Regions from separate parts of the Homo sapiens genome. Here regions 1 and 3 are each linked to region 2. The links are contacts of gene promoters, found by promoter capture Hi-C in blood cells and fetal thymus (Javierre and others, 2016). All regions are on one chromosome and are shown on one strand. The core of a region is centred on a gene start or on the middle of the fragment in contact, and the rest is flanking DNA. Distances in the headings are between cores, read along the strand shown. Region 1 overlaps LOC107986837. Region 2 holds the start of TMEM168 (transmembrane protein 168). Region 3 overlaps LOC105375457 (a long non-coding RNA gene).

Evidence for each region. Contacts are between HindIII fragments. The CHiCAGO score rates a contact against its expected background, and 5 or more counts as called.
Region 1: a fragment that was not itself captured here is called in contact with the fragment with the promoter of TMEM168 in region 2 in 3 of 17 cell types (total CD8 T cells, naive CD8 T cells and activated CD4 T cells); the score reaches 9.4 in total CD8 T cells.
Region 3: a fragment that was not itself captured here is called in contact with the fragment with the promoter of TMEM168 in region 2 in 1 of 17 cell types (fetal thymus); the score reaches 5.8 in fetal thymus.

Annotation. Positions count from the first base shown.
Region 1 is chr7:113,103,294-113,108,308 of GRCh38, forward strand. It overlaps LOC107986837, which reads left to right. Exons shown (of 4, transcript XM_047421162.1): 2 at 4,462-4,506. Among named protein-coding and RNA genes, the nearest start is that of SMIM30, 13 kb to the right of the region's middle. The HindIII fragment of the contact is 1,672 bases long and covers 2,568-4,239 here.
Region 2 is chr7:112,789,064-112,793,630 of GRCh38, forward strand. It overlaps TMEM168 (transmembrane protein 168), which reads right to left and starts at 1,330. Exons shown (of 5, transcript NM_022484.6): 1 at 1,097-1,330. RefSeq lists an enhancer at 1,589-1,718. The HindIII fragment of the contact is 5,754 bases long and covers 1-2,451 here.
Region 3 is chr7:112,415,556-112,420,426 of GRCh38, forward strand. It overlaps LOC105375457 (a long non-coding RNA gene), which reads right to left. Exons shown (of 3, transcript XR_001745325.2): 3 at 1,406-4,871. Among named protein-coding and RNA genes, the nearest start is that of IFRD1, 32 kb to the right of the region's middle. RefSeq lists enhancers at 1-76, 77-576. The HindIII fragment of the contact is 6,333 bases long and covers 1-4,764 here.

The DNA of each region.
Region 1 (5,015 bases), core at 2,154-4,653, 320 kb after region 2:
CTCATTGTGTCCTCACATGGTAGAGAGGAGAGAGAGAGAGAGAGAGAGAGAGAGAGAGAGAGAGGGAGAGAGAGATCCCTTGTTCCTCTTTTTATAAGGGCACTAATCCCATTCATGAGGGTTAGGCACTCCTTAATCATCTCTCAAAGTCTCCACCTGCTAATAAAATCACATTAAGAGTTAGAATTTCAACATACGAATTTTGGAGGACGCAAACATGGTTCAGACAGCGGAGGCAATAGCCTGCTGGGAAGGGTAGGACAACAGGAGTGTTGAACCAAGTGTAGAGATGTAGAGCAGGAAAGTGCAGGCAGCCCTTCTGTCTTTTCAAGTGAACAGGAATATGAAGTTCTCTTTACCCTTGCACTTTTTTCCCTCCCCAGTCCAACTCTATTTTCCTTCCAAGAGCCCCTTTGTTGGTGAGTTAATTTCAGTGAAACCATATCTTGTTCAACAAATACCTATTCAAATGAATTAATTTACTGGGGATGGGAGTTCAGACAATAAAGAGTGGGGGGGAAGTTTTAGTCTCAGAGAGGATGTGCCAGATAAATAAAGAAGGATTATGTATAGCTGAAAAACTTCAATTAAAGCGGCATGAATTTCAACTGGAAAAATGTATTTTTTTCTTGCTTTAACCACAAAAGCATAAGCAAAAATTCATTTTATCTATAAAATTTTTTATTGTAGTAAGAGATCTTTAAAATGACCAGATTCCTTCAATAGAATAATTTCCTCTCTTCCTCCGTCTCCCCTTCCTTCCTTTAATTTTTGAGTCATGTCATGCAAGTATACTGAAGCCCAAAGAGGGAGGGGGATCTTTTCTTTGTAGTGGGAGTTCTGTCATTTACAAAAAAAAAAAAAAACAAAAAAAAAACTATAAAGATTGTATTAATTTACATTACCACCAACAGTGTAAAAAGCAGTGGCTCATGCCTGTAATCCCAGCACTTTAGGAGGCTGAGGTGGGCAGATCACGAGGTCAGGAGTTCAAGACCAGCCTGGCCAAAATAGTGAAACCCTGTCTCTACTAAAGACACACACACACACACACACACACAAATCAGACAGGCGTGGTGGTGCATGCCTATAATCCCAGCTACTCAGGAGGCTGAAGCAGGAGAATTGCTTGAACCTGGGAGGCAGAGGTTGCAGTGAGCCGAGATCATGCCATTGCACTCCAACCTGGGTGACAGGGCGAGACTCTGTCTCAAAAAAAAAAAAAAAATCATTTCTTTTTCTCCTCATCATCACCAACATTTGTTATTTTTTGACTTTTTAATAATGGCCATCCTGACTGGTGTATGATGGTATCTCATTGTATATCTCATTGTGGTTTTAATTTGCATTTCTTTGGTGATTAGTGATGCTGGGAATTTTTTCATACCCTTGATGGCCATTTGTATGTTCTTTTGGAAAATGTCTACTCGTGTCCTTTGCCCACTTTTTAATGAGGTTGTTTTTTGTTGTTGTTGTTGCTATTGAGTTGAGTTCCTTGTACAGTCTCCAGGGAAAACAGTATGGAGATTTCTCAAATAACTAAAAACAGAACTACCATTCAATCCAGCAATCCCACTACGGGGTATCTACCCAAAGGAAAATAAATTATATAAAAAAGACATCTGCACTCATATATCGATGGCAGCACTATCCACAATAGCAAGTCATGGAATCAACCTAAGTGTCCATTAAAATATGATTGGATAAAGAAAATGTGTTGTGTGTGCGTGCATGTAATATGTGTGTGTATATATAAATATATATATAAAATATATATAAATATATATAAAATATATAAATATAAAATATATAATATATATATAAATATATATATACACATATACACACACACATATATACACACACACACCTTATTCCAACATGGAGGATATCTTGTATTTATATATATAAATATATATAATATATATTTTTATATATTTAAATATATTTATATATGTAAATATATATAATATATATTTTTATATATTTAAATATATTTATATATATTTATAACTATATATTTATATATAGTTATATATATTTATATATATTTATATATATATATATAAATACAAGATATCCTCCATGTTGGAATAAGGTGTGTGTGTGTGTGTGTGTGTGTGTGTGTGTGTATAATGGAATTCTACTCAGCCATAGGAAAGAAAGAAATGTCTTTTGTAACAGCATGGGTGGAACTGGAGGCCATTATCTTAAGTGAAATGACTCAGAAACAGAAAGCCAAATACCTCATGTTCTCACTTATAAGTGGGAGCTACACATGAACATACAGAGCGGAATCAAAGCCACTGGAGACTCCAGAAGTTGGGAGGATGAGAGGGAGTTGAGGGATGAGAAATTATCTGTTGGGTACAATTTACATCATTCAGGTATTGGTAACACTAAAAGCCTGGGGTTCACCACCATACAAAGTATCAATTTAACAAAACTGCACTTGTGCGCCTTAAATTTATACAAATAAAACAACTGCTATAGCAACCACTTTATGCCAGCATTATCTGGAAAAAACAAAAATATAAACAAACTGGAGATGTCCATCTTTGTACAAAAGCTTGAGTGCTCTTTCCTTGCTTTCATTTTATATTTTTATGGTAATGCTTCTAATCTGAATTTTATTTTAATTCTACTTAATTTTTGTCAGGCTGCCGAAATAGATTATATTTTTTCCTATGATATCTTTTGTTTTGTCATCTAAACCATTTGGGCTTTTTCTGTGGACAGAGTTCTTAAGTCAGACTACAAATGTTTATTGAATGTGTATTGTATTAAATGCTTTATCTTGGGTGTTCAAGAATAATGCAAAGCAGGAAGGACAAGTTTTCTATTTTTAAGAATATTGCTATTAGGCTGGCATGTTTAATTTAATGAACTATAAAGCAAAACTTTAAACTTCTTTTAGGTAGGACCAACTTTTGCTCACATGGTATAATTTTCTATGTATTTTTGGTGCATTGTCCATCCACATCCCTTCTCCCCACTTCTGGTAATTTTATCCTTCATTCTTCTCTCTAAACCCAATATCAGGTGTTTAATCCCACTTTGGAGTTCCATTTGGAGGTTTTTATTTTTAGTTTAATGTGTAGACCCCAAAGTCATATTAGCATTCAGTATCAAGAGCCAGAAGACCTCTAGGCCTGCAAGACCCAGAAGAGGCACCATTAATCAGGTATCACAAAAGTACTGGAGAGTGTATAGAACTTAGGCATTTGTGTTTAGGATGTTTCCTGATGGCTTTCCTTAAGTCATGTCATCTATCAGGAAACTGTTTCTGTAGCTTTTCAAGGCTGGCCCCACTTCTGGGTATTCTGTTTGCCTAAGCCTTCCTTCACCTTGCTCATCTTCCTTCAAAGGGGAATTCTAGTTTTAAGTGCTCAGCAGTGAATGTGTTTGGGGTACACAATTTCTACTTATTTATATTTTTCTTTAAGAAAATGAGTCCCCAAATAACTTGCGAGTGATTCTGCTGGTGCCCTACAGCCTGTTTGCAGCATAGCCAGAACTAGGATTCATATGGTTTTGACTCCTTGTTTAGTGCTCTTTTAATTATGTCACAGACTTTCATAGCCATAAACTTCTGTCACTTTGCAACACCACCGAGGAAAGAAACACTTCTTTGTGTGGTTTGGTACTTATTATTGTAATAATGTTTAATTAATAATATTTCTTGATAGCTATCATTAGTATGGACCACTAATAAAAAATGTAGAGATCACTGGACAAATAATGTTTTAATTTTAATTATGAAAACAATAAGAATAATCTTGAAAATGAATATTGAAGACCATATAATACTTCTTTCACTTAATATGCTGAGTCTTTTTTTGATCCCTCTTATGAACTGCTTATTATAAAAGTGCACAGTGACTCTGAACTTTTTCTCTAACAGGAGATTTGTTACTTTCTCTCCTGGGTTAGAAACTTTTCTTTCCACACCTAGAATTCAGAGTGTCTTTTATAAACCCAGACCTCTAGCATTTCTGGTACAGTAGTATATAGTCACCTCAGTTATCCTCCATGTTGGAAAACTTGCTTCTTTAGAAGATCAGGACAATAGACACATTAGATATATTTTTATGTATATATTTGCAACGGATGAATTATAATGTAAGAATTAATATACAGAAGTCAATTTCTAGGCTGAAACCACAGGTTCAAAGGATATGAATATATTTTTGGTACTTGGTAGAAATTATCTATTTTGCTTATTATAGTATTATAATAAGCTTATTATAGTGTTATCAATAATGACAAGATGTTAAATACCATTGGCATGTCCAGCATTATTAAAGGTATTGTTTTGGAATAAGTAATGGTAAATATAAGGGGTAGAATATTACTTGATTGTTAAAATATCCGTGAAACACTTACATGTTAAACAGACAAACAAAACTAGAAGACAAAATGGTATGCATGTTCCAATCCAGTTTCATTAAATTTATGCAGGTGGAAGATGGCTTGGAAGAGTGAAAACAGTTTTGCTGAGGACAGGTAAGGTATGGGTCATTCTGATATTATCTAATGTTATCTATATATCATTACCATATATACCATATCATTATCTAATGTCATCTATATATCATTACCATATATACTAATTATCTAATGTTATGATTTTTTTAGTTAAAAAGCAATACATTAGATAGTGTAATAACCATTTAATTTGGTTTATAAGTTACAGAAAAAAATTTTTTGTTACTTTGAAGTCACCATTTATTTTATCAAATGATGTAATTTTACCTCTCCAAGTAATTTAAACTCCCCAGTCCTTAGAATCTAGGTATAAATGAAGCTCAGAGCTCTCTTTCAATTGGATAATTAGCTCACGAGTGGTTGCTCTATTTCTCACTCACCTCATTCACATACAGGGCTCAGCTCTGAATTGCTTCTGGCTCATTCCAAAAGCCAAGTGCTCAAACATGAAGACTTCTTTTTATTGGAAGTATTTGAAAGGGCATGCCATATTCCAAATATGAATTCCAAATATGCTTTAAATAATG
Region 2 (4,567 bases), core at 80-2,579:
CACACTTTATTTTCCAACCTTACTGACCTTTCAATTACAAACTGCACAAATGCTATTCCCTTGCCAGGTACACTCCTTTTCCTCCTCCTGGCCCCACCCCAGTGCTCACACCTGGCTTATTCCAACTCTTCAGGTCTCAGATAAATCATTTTCTTAAGAGATTATCCCTGCCCCCTCCCCATTACATGACCCCCATACTTTCTCTGTTACATACCATCACTTATTTCATGTCTGCATTTCCCACTAGATCAAAAGGTCTCTGAGGGTTTGTCTTCAATACTGTACACCCAGTGACTAGCAAAAATCCGGCATCAAGAAGGTATTCAATAAATACTTGTTGAAAAATAAAGACTAATAAAGAAATAACTACATTTAACAACAATAGTCACCATTGGACACTTACTAATGCCTAAAGAGAATACAGAACTTAGCTATATCCCACAACTAATAACTAGTAGAACTAAGGGAGAGTCCATGAATGTTTGGTTTCTATTTCAGCTTTCCACCAGTCTTTACTTAATTCACCCAAATTCTTCCAAACCAATTCTCTCTCCATGTCCTACCTCTAGGGAATGGCTTGAGGCATACCGTATCACTTGCATTATCTTTCACTCAGAAACTCTGTCCCATCTAGAAGTGTCAAGGCTGAAAGAACTACACTGAAAAAACAGGGAATTTCAGTGCTTCAGTTCTGAATTACTGATAACTCTTTGAGCCATCTCATACGAGGAAAATGTCATCTAGAATATCAAACTCCTCAGCACTAGAGCAGCAACAGCAATTTCTCTCCCTTTCGGCCTCCTTCTAGCGAGATGTGGGAGGTCCGACAAGGAGCTTGGCTGTTCTCCACCATCCTCTGCCTCGGAGAACGCGACCACAACGTGGCGCCCAGTTGAGGGGGAACCCTTGCGAAATACGGAGAGGCGCTCCCACACCCTCCAATCTCCAACCACCACTGTCAACTCCTCCAGAGGCAGGTATCCTACCCCGGCCCTGGGAGGCCGACTGGGCGGAGCTTGGGGTCCGGACCACGCGGAGCCCTGGCAGTGTCTATGCCTAGATCTCGCCGCCCTGCCGTCCACCCATTTCTCCCTACCTGACTCGGCCGTCGCCACCAACGCGCTCTCCCAACCCTCGGAGTCAGTTCCAAAACCAAACCAAAAAGGAGGAGAGCAGACAAGGCTTCAGCCTGCGACTGAGAACAGGGAGGCGGCACGCCTTGGGGAACGAGGGCCCGAGGCCATACGCGCTAATACAGGCCAGTGTCGGCGTAAACTTTCTCCGTTACCGGCCCGGCCGCGACCGCCATGTTTCCGCCGCCGAAATCCGCGACGGTACGGAACGCCGCCGGGGTCAAACTGCGCGGCGCGCCTCCTTCCCGAGGCCCGGCCCCCTCCCCGCCCAAACCCGCGCGCCGCCACACACTCAGGTGAGCAAGGCGCTGCGCGAGTGTCAACTGCCCCACCTAAGGCGCCTGCCTTCCTCAAGCCAAAGTCGACTCCTGGGACCTGGAATCAGCAGCTGAGAACAGACAGCGGGAAGACCACCAAAGATCAGGCTGACAGTGCCCATCAAGCATCTAGGCCACCGCCTCGGGCTGGACCGAACGGGGACAGGGTGGACAGGACTGCCACGCGTGGGCTGTAAATACTGCGGGAGGCGTTGCTGCTCATTAATATATATGGCATAATATATGGCTTTGTAACCAGCTAAGGCCCAAGCTCCTTAGGCCCTCCCTCAGACCTTTCAGTTCCTCAAATGCAGGGACATGTCGGGTTTTGCTCAACATTAAATCACCTTAGCATAGTGCCTGACACATAGTTGGCACTTAAATATTTGTAAAATAATAATATGCAATAGGCTCTCCACGATCCGTAGTTCTCTCCTCCCACTTGTTTTGCATGTATTATCTATATATTTTTCCTATTTTCCATAATAGAGTGTGAATTTCCTAATTTTCATAATAGATGTTGGGGGTTGGTGTGGCCAGCACATCTATAGGAATGAACAACTCTCAGATTGAGATTCTGCATATGTGGATGAAAATTTTGAGTTAGATTCTCTCTAGACTCCTGATTTTAAAAGCAATCACAACTCAACTTCCCAAATCTGTAACTAGCTCTCTGGGGAACACGAGTGCCACATTTCCAACTACCTGCTAGATGTTTCTACTCAAATATATTGTCATCACTTCCAACTCAACTTGCCTTTAATGGACATTTATATACATTTATTATGCCCCCCATTTGAATCCCCTTCCGTATTTGGAGAATTCCCCACCTGAGTTAAGAGTCTAATGGCTGCCGCTGAAATGCTGAACACTTGTTTAACTAATCATGTGTACCCGCTGGAAGCCATGAGTCAAAAAAGGCACAGAAAGCTACACTCCCAGGTCACCTGTAGGAGTATAGCAAGTGTAGAGATCGAGAACCCATCCCTAACAGCAAGGTAAGCTTCCGAGGCAGTAGTGAGAGTGCTGGCATCCACCATTAACATGTCAGAGATGCAAGATGCCTGTGCTTGGTGAGGGTCACAACCCCAGAGCCCTTTCCCAATCTGTTCTGTAGCCTGTTAACAGTCTCTGTGTACATTTCTGGGTAGCCTGTGACAGACTCTGTACTACATAGCTGTGAGGCAGGACAATAGGGTCTGGAGGCAAGGAACTTACGGCTGATTCATGCTGACTTTCTAGAACTAAATCAAAAGGAAAGCCCCAACTTTCCACAGCTAAGTAACAAAGGGACCCGGCCCCCTCCCCCACCACCGCCCTTTTCTGCGTGGCAGACGGAAAATTGAAAGTACCTCGGATTGGTTGCTTTCCATAACTAATTAAATGTTTGCATAGGGTGTAACCTTTGTAACTTCGCTTCAGGCTCTGATTGGTTGCTTTCCGCTATCAGACTGATTGTGGGCCACTATATTTGCGTGGGGTGTACACCAAGTGGCCAATGGGAAACCTCTAGAGGGTGTTTATACCCCAGAAAATTCTATAACCCGGCCGCCCCGCTCTTGAGCCCCATGTTCCGGCTCTTCACACCCTGTGGAGTGTACTTTCATTTTCAATAAATCTCTGCTTTTGTTGCTTCATTCCTTCCTTGCTTTGTTTGTGCGTTTTGTCTAATTCCTTGTTCAAGATGCCAAGAACCTGGACACCTTCCACCGGTAACAGCCAAGGTAGATTCTGGCCATGTAGGTGCAAGCCTCAATCTCCAGCTATCCTTTGAACTACTTAGCGTCCTCTAGTAAACTTACTTTCTGCTTAAATTAGCTACAGCTGCATTCAGTTGCTTAGCACTAAGACCAGCTCACTAAATCAGTGGTTTTTCATCATCTTCCTCTAACATGGTCTTCTGCCTTATGACTTTAAAACCATTTTTGATGCTTGTTATCTTGTCCTTATACTTTAGAATACTTCAGTGAGATGTGTGTATGTTTGAAAGTTAATCTGCACAGCCCAGGGTGGGTAATTAGCATTTGAAAGACTAATCAAAAATGTTCACTGCAGAGTTGAATGCACAGATGCTTCCAGTATCACCATGTAAATCTGCACTAGATGTACCTTAGTTAGCATAAAGGATTAGAAAGAATTCTTCATTGTGGAAACAAGATGTTCAAAATACGTGGCTGGTTAGAATACTGTACAAGCACTTATGCATAACTGTGGCGTAGAAATCTGCTGTGTAGCAGACCGACAGCCTTCAGAATGGCTTAGTCTAGACTTCTGTTTAATATTTTGCCACAAAGTACTGTTTGTGTACTGTTTTTTGTGTCTGCTTGCTGATAAGATTTGTGTAGTAGCATTCAGTCTGAGACTTGTTTTAACTGTATGACACTACCTAGTACCGAGGGAGGAGAAAGATAGCCTTGTCAATCTTTAGTTATTGAAGGATACCAGTATTTACCAAAAAAAATTTGACACTTATGAATGACCAAGTGCTGTTCATTTTCATCCACCCTATCTCTTGCATTTATTATTTCCCATCAACTTCTATTGCTTCTACTCTGTTACGGTATTACTTCAGTAACCTCTATGCTGGTCATCTTGATTTCAGCCTCAGCTCAGTCTAACCCATTACACAGGCCCCTGGCTGATGCTCTCAGAGCACCATGCTTTGACACTTCTGGGATTAAAACCAGTGATTTATACAGGCTACAGAATAAAGTCCAAATTCAGTCTGGCACCTGAGGCCCTCAAGGACCCAATCTAAATCCCCCTTTATCCTGAAAGAAGAAAGGGTCAATTTGCGACATCTGGTACATCCGCAGCCAGACACCTAAATATAAAACAGCCACCTGGGAACCATTGCAGAGACTGGTGATTTCAGGTTCTGGTTAATGATGGCAGTATAATGATCCTAATCACTAGAATATCCATTCTTTAACACCTACTTCTATACAGACAAGGTCTGTGTGCTTCAGGCCAGGAATATCACCTGAGGAGTTATTTCAGACTAGGAACACCTGTTGAAAATATACTCATGATAATAAGTCAAGAAAAGGAAGAGGGAGCAGCACGCATCACAGGAGGTACGGTGGATCTTATCACACATTCCAGTCCTCTGGCAGG
Region 3 (4,871 bases), core at 348-2,847, 370 kb before region 2:
CTCTCCCAGACCTTCATGGGCTGCTGAAGGGCCCCTGGTGCCTGCTGTAACCGTGGCATTCACAGGCATCCCCTAGTCCCTCTGCAGTAGAGGGACATGGGGCAAAGTAGAGCACACATGCTTGGGGAAGTTCAGCCCTTCCCCAGTGGGCCATGCAGAAAAGGGTGAAGCAACACACGATCTGAGACCTGTGTTCTCCCCTCTCCTGCGGGGGGTGAACCCCAGCTGACATTCTTGAGGTTCTCCCACTGCTCTCTCCTCTCCCTCATGTAATACTCACAAGACTGGTGTTGTTCTGGGGTAGGCTGTGGAGCAACTCCTGCTCTTGAATGCCTCCTCCTCCATTTACATCTAAATTGAAATCTTTTTCAATTACTTTGTCTCCCAGTTATTCTGAAGATACATGTTATTTATTTATTTATTTATTTATTTATTGGCTCTCTTTGTTGAACTGTACTTTTTTTGTGCAGAGAGAAGGTGTATGGAGAGATTTGAATTTGGGTGGCTGGCGTTATTATCATATGGGAAATGGCAGAAGTTCTCTTCTGATGTTTTGCATTGTTTTGTTTTGTCAGTGAGGTAGAAAACAAGACAACCAGCTGAATGAGGATGGGAGAAGGGTGAGGGGAGAAGATGTGAATGATTATGTGAAGGAGCTGGAGATGGAAGGACAAGGTAGTGTGACACCCTAGCAGCATGAAGGCACCGCTTGCAGTTAGCAGTAGTAAATTTAAAGTAAGACCAGTCAGCATGATCGTGGAATTTTCTCCAGCAACGTTCAGCTGCATCCTGTTGTGGTTTTGCCAAATGAGTACAAAGAAATGTGCTAAGCAGATATGATAAAAACCTTAAAGCACTCCTGTGAAACACAAAAGTAGAAAGATGTGTCGTATTCTTGGATTAGACAATGAAGCATCATGAGGATGCCAGTTCTCCCAGGTTAATATATACACTTATTGTCATTACATTAAAAGTAACCATTTTTTTTTCTGGAGTCAGAGAAGTTGATTCTAAACTACATAAGATAAATTAACAAGCTGAATATTCAGGAAAACTCCTAAAAAGAGGCACTATAAACAAAAGGAATGAACTGGGTATTTAAATCAGAAAGAAATTTTAAACACGAAAATGACCCTAAAATATGTGAAAAGCTACTCAATCTAGCTTATATTAAGAAAAAAGTGAATGAAAAGCATTTAAAAATCTTACTGCTCATCTATTTGATTGGCAAGTTCAAAAAGGTTGCTAATATACTTTGTTGGTGGGGCTGTGGAAAAGTAGGTACTGTCATCATTATGGTTTAGGCCCTATGGGGAATAATTTGGAATTAACTAATAAAACTACATTTGCATTTACCTGTTGATTGAGCAATTCTACTTTTAAGAATCTCTACAAATTCAGAATATGTGAAGAAAGTTATTTATTGAGAGACATTATGTATAGTAGCATGTGATTATAAACAATCCAAATATCCATCTCCATGTTAATAGATTGGAAGAATCAATATTATTAAAATGTCCATACTACCCAAAGCGATCTACAGATTCAATGTAATCCCTATCAAAATAACACTGACATTATTCACAGAAATCAAAATTAAAAAACTAAAATGTATACAGAACCACAAAAGACACAGAATAGCCCAAGCTACCCTGAACAATAAGAACAAAACTGGAGGCATCACATTACATGACTTGAAATTACACTGCAGAACTATAGTAACAAAAACAGCATGGTACCGGCATAAAAACAGACACATAGACCAATGGAGCGGAATACAGAACCAAGAAATAAATACATACTCAACAGTGAACTCATTTTCGACAAAGGTGCCAAGAATATACACTGGGGAAAGGACAGTCTCTTTAATAAATGGTGCTGGGAAAACTGGATGTCCATATGCAAAAGGATGAAACTGGACCCCTATCTCTGGGTATATATAAAAATAAAATAAAAATGGATTAAAGGCTTAAATCTAAGACCTCAAACTATGAAACTACTAAAGAAAACACTGGGATTCAATACTATTCCCATCAAGCTACCCTTGACTTTCTTCACAGAACTAGAAAAAACTACTTTAAATTTCATATGGAACCAAAAAAGAGCCTGTATAGCCAAGACAATCCTAAGCAAAAAGAACAAAGGTGGAGACATCATGCTACCTGACTTCAAACTATACTACAAGGCTACAGTAAGCAAAACAGCATGGTACTGGTACCAAAAGAGACATATAGACCAATGGAACAGAACAGAGGCCTCAGAAATAACACCACAGATCTACAACCATCAGATCTGCGACAAACCTGCCAAAAACAAGAATGGGGAAAGGATTCCCTATTTAATAAATGGTGCTGGGAAAACTGGCTAGCCATATGCAGAAAACTGAAACTGGACCCCTTCCTTACACCTTATACAAAAATTAACTCAAGATGGATTAAGGACTTAAATGTAAAACCCAAAACCATAAAAACTCTAGAAGAAAACCTAGACAATACCATTCAGGACATACGCATGGGCAAAGACTTCATGATGAAAATACCAAAAGCAATTGCAACAAAAGCCAAAATTGACAAATGGGATCTAATTAAACTAAAGAGCTTCTGCAAGCAAAAAAAAACTATCATCAGAGTGAACAGATAACCTATAGAATGGGAGAAAATTTTTGCAATCTACCCACTTGACAAAGGTCTAACATCCAGAATCTACAAGAAACTTAAAGAAATTTACAAGAAAAAAACAACCACATCAAAAAGTGGGGAAAGGGTATGAATAGACACTTCTCAAAAGACATTTATGCAGCCAACAAACATATGGAAAAAAGCTCATCATCACTGATCATTAGAGAAATACAAATCAAAACCACAATGAGATACCATCTCACGCTAGTCAGAATGGCAATTATTAAAAAGTCAAGAAACAATAGATGCTGGTGATGCTGTGGAGAAATAGGAATGCTTTTATGCTATTGGTGTTAATGTAGATTGGTATAACCACTGTGGAAGACAGTGTGGCGATTCCTCAGGGATCTAGAACCAGAAATACCATTTGACCCAGCAATCCCATTACTGGGGTATATACCCAAAAGAATATAAATCATTCTACTATAAAGACACATGCTCATGTATGTTTATTGCAACACTATTTACAATAGCAAAGACATGGAACCAACCCAAATGTCCATCAATGATATACTGGGTAAAGAAAATGTGGTACGTACATACCATAGAATACTATGCAGCCATAAAAAACAATGAGATCATGTCCTTTGCAGGGACATGGATGAAGTTGGAAGCCATTATCCTCAGCAAACTAACACAGGAACAGAAAACCAAACACCGCATGTTCTCACTTATAAGTGGAAATTGAACAATGAGAACACATGGACACAGAGAGGGAAACAACACATACCAGGGCCTGTTGCGGGGTGGAGGGCAAGGGGAAGGAGAGTATTAGGACAAATACCTATTGCATGTGGGGCTTAAAACCTAGATGACGGGTTGATAGGTACAGCAAACCACCATGGCACATGTATACCTATGTAACAAACCTGCATGTTCTGCACATGTATTCTGAAACTTAAAGTAAAATTAAAAAAAAATGTGGTGCACACACAATGAAGTACTATTCAGCCATAAAAAATGAGATCTTATCATTTGCAACAACATGGATGGAACTGGAGGATATTATGTTAAATGGAATAAGCCAGGCATGGAAGGATAAATTTCACATGTTCTCACTCATTTGTGGGAGCTAAAAATTAAAACAATTGAACTGATGAAGATAAAGAAAAGAATAATGGTTATTGGTGGCTAGGAAGGGTAGTGGGGGTGGGGAGGAAAATGAGGATGGTTAATGGTTACTAAAATATAGTTAGAATGAATAAAATCTAGTATTTGATAGCACAACAGGGTGACTACAGTCAACAAAAATTTATTGTACATTTAAAAATAACTAAAAGAGTATAATTGGAATATTTCTAACACAAAGAAACGCTTGAGGTGATGAACACTCCATTTATCCTGAAGTGATTATTTGGCTTTGTATGCCTGTATCAAAATATCTCACATAACCCATAAATATATAAACCTACTATGAACCCATACAAATTGAAAAGAAAAAAAGAGAGAAAAACAATAACAAATATCCATCAACAGGGGACTTGTTAAATCAATTATGGTGCATCCACAAAATAGAGAACGAAATAGCTATGAAAAAGAAAAGTTATCAGCCGGGTGCAGTGGCTCATGCCTGTAATTCTGACACTTTGGGAGGCTGAGGTGGGTGGATTATTTGAGTCCAGGAGTTTGAGACCAGCCTGGGCAACATGGTGAAGCCTTGTCTATTAGCCCAGCTGGTGGTGCAGGCCTGTAGTCCCAGCTATTTGAGTGGGCTGAGGTGGGAGGATCGCTTGAGTCAAGGTTGCAGTAAGCCCTGATTGTGCCACTGCACTCCAATGTAGGCAACAGAGTGAGACCCTGTCTCAAAAAAAAAAAAACAAAAAACCAAGATTAGGAACAAAAGATTGGATGAATAGATAGATTATATATATATTTATATAGAATTCTATATTTTGTGTAGAGGCGGTGATATTGCTTTAAATATATTGAGCAATGTAAAGGTTTTACAAATTTAAAAATAATAAAATTAAAAAGGAAAATGAGAGCACACACAGACATTGGAAACAAATGAGCTTAAAATGAATATCAGATGGAGGGACCACGTGCCTCTTCTTGTTGATCCTGGACTTGTGAGCTTCCCCAGTAAAGCTTGCTCTTTATACCGCAACCACGGCAGGCTGTGGAATTTGCACAACTTGCTTCAATTGTGTTTACTGTCTATTGTCTGTCTTTTCCCACTGAATAGTCAGCTAC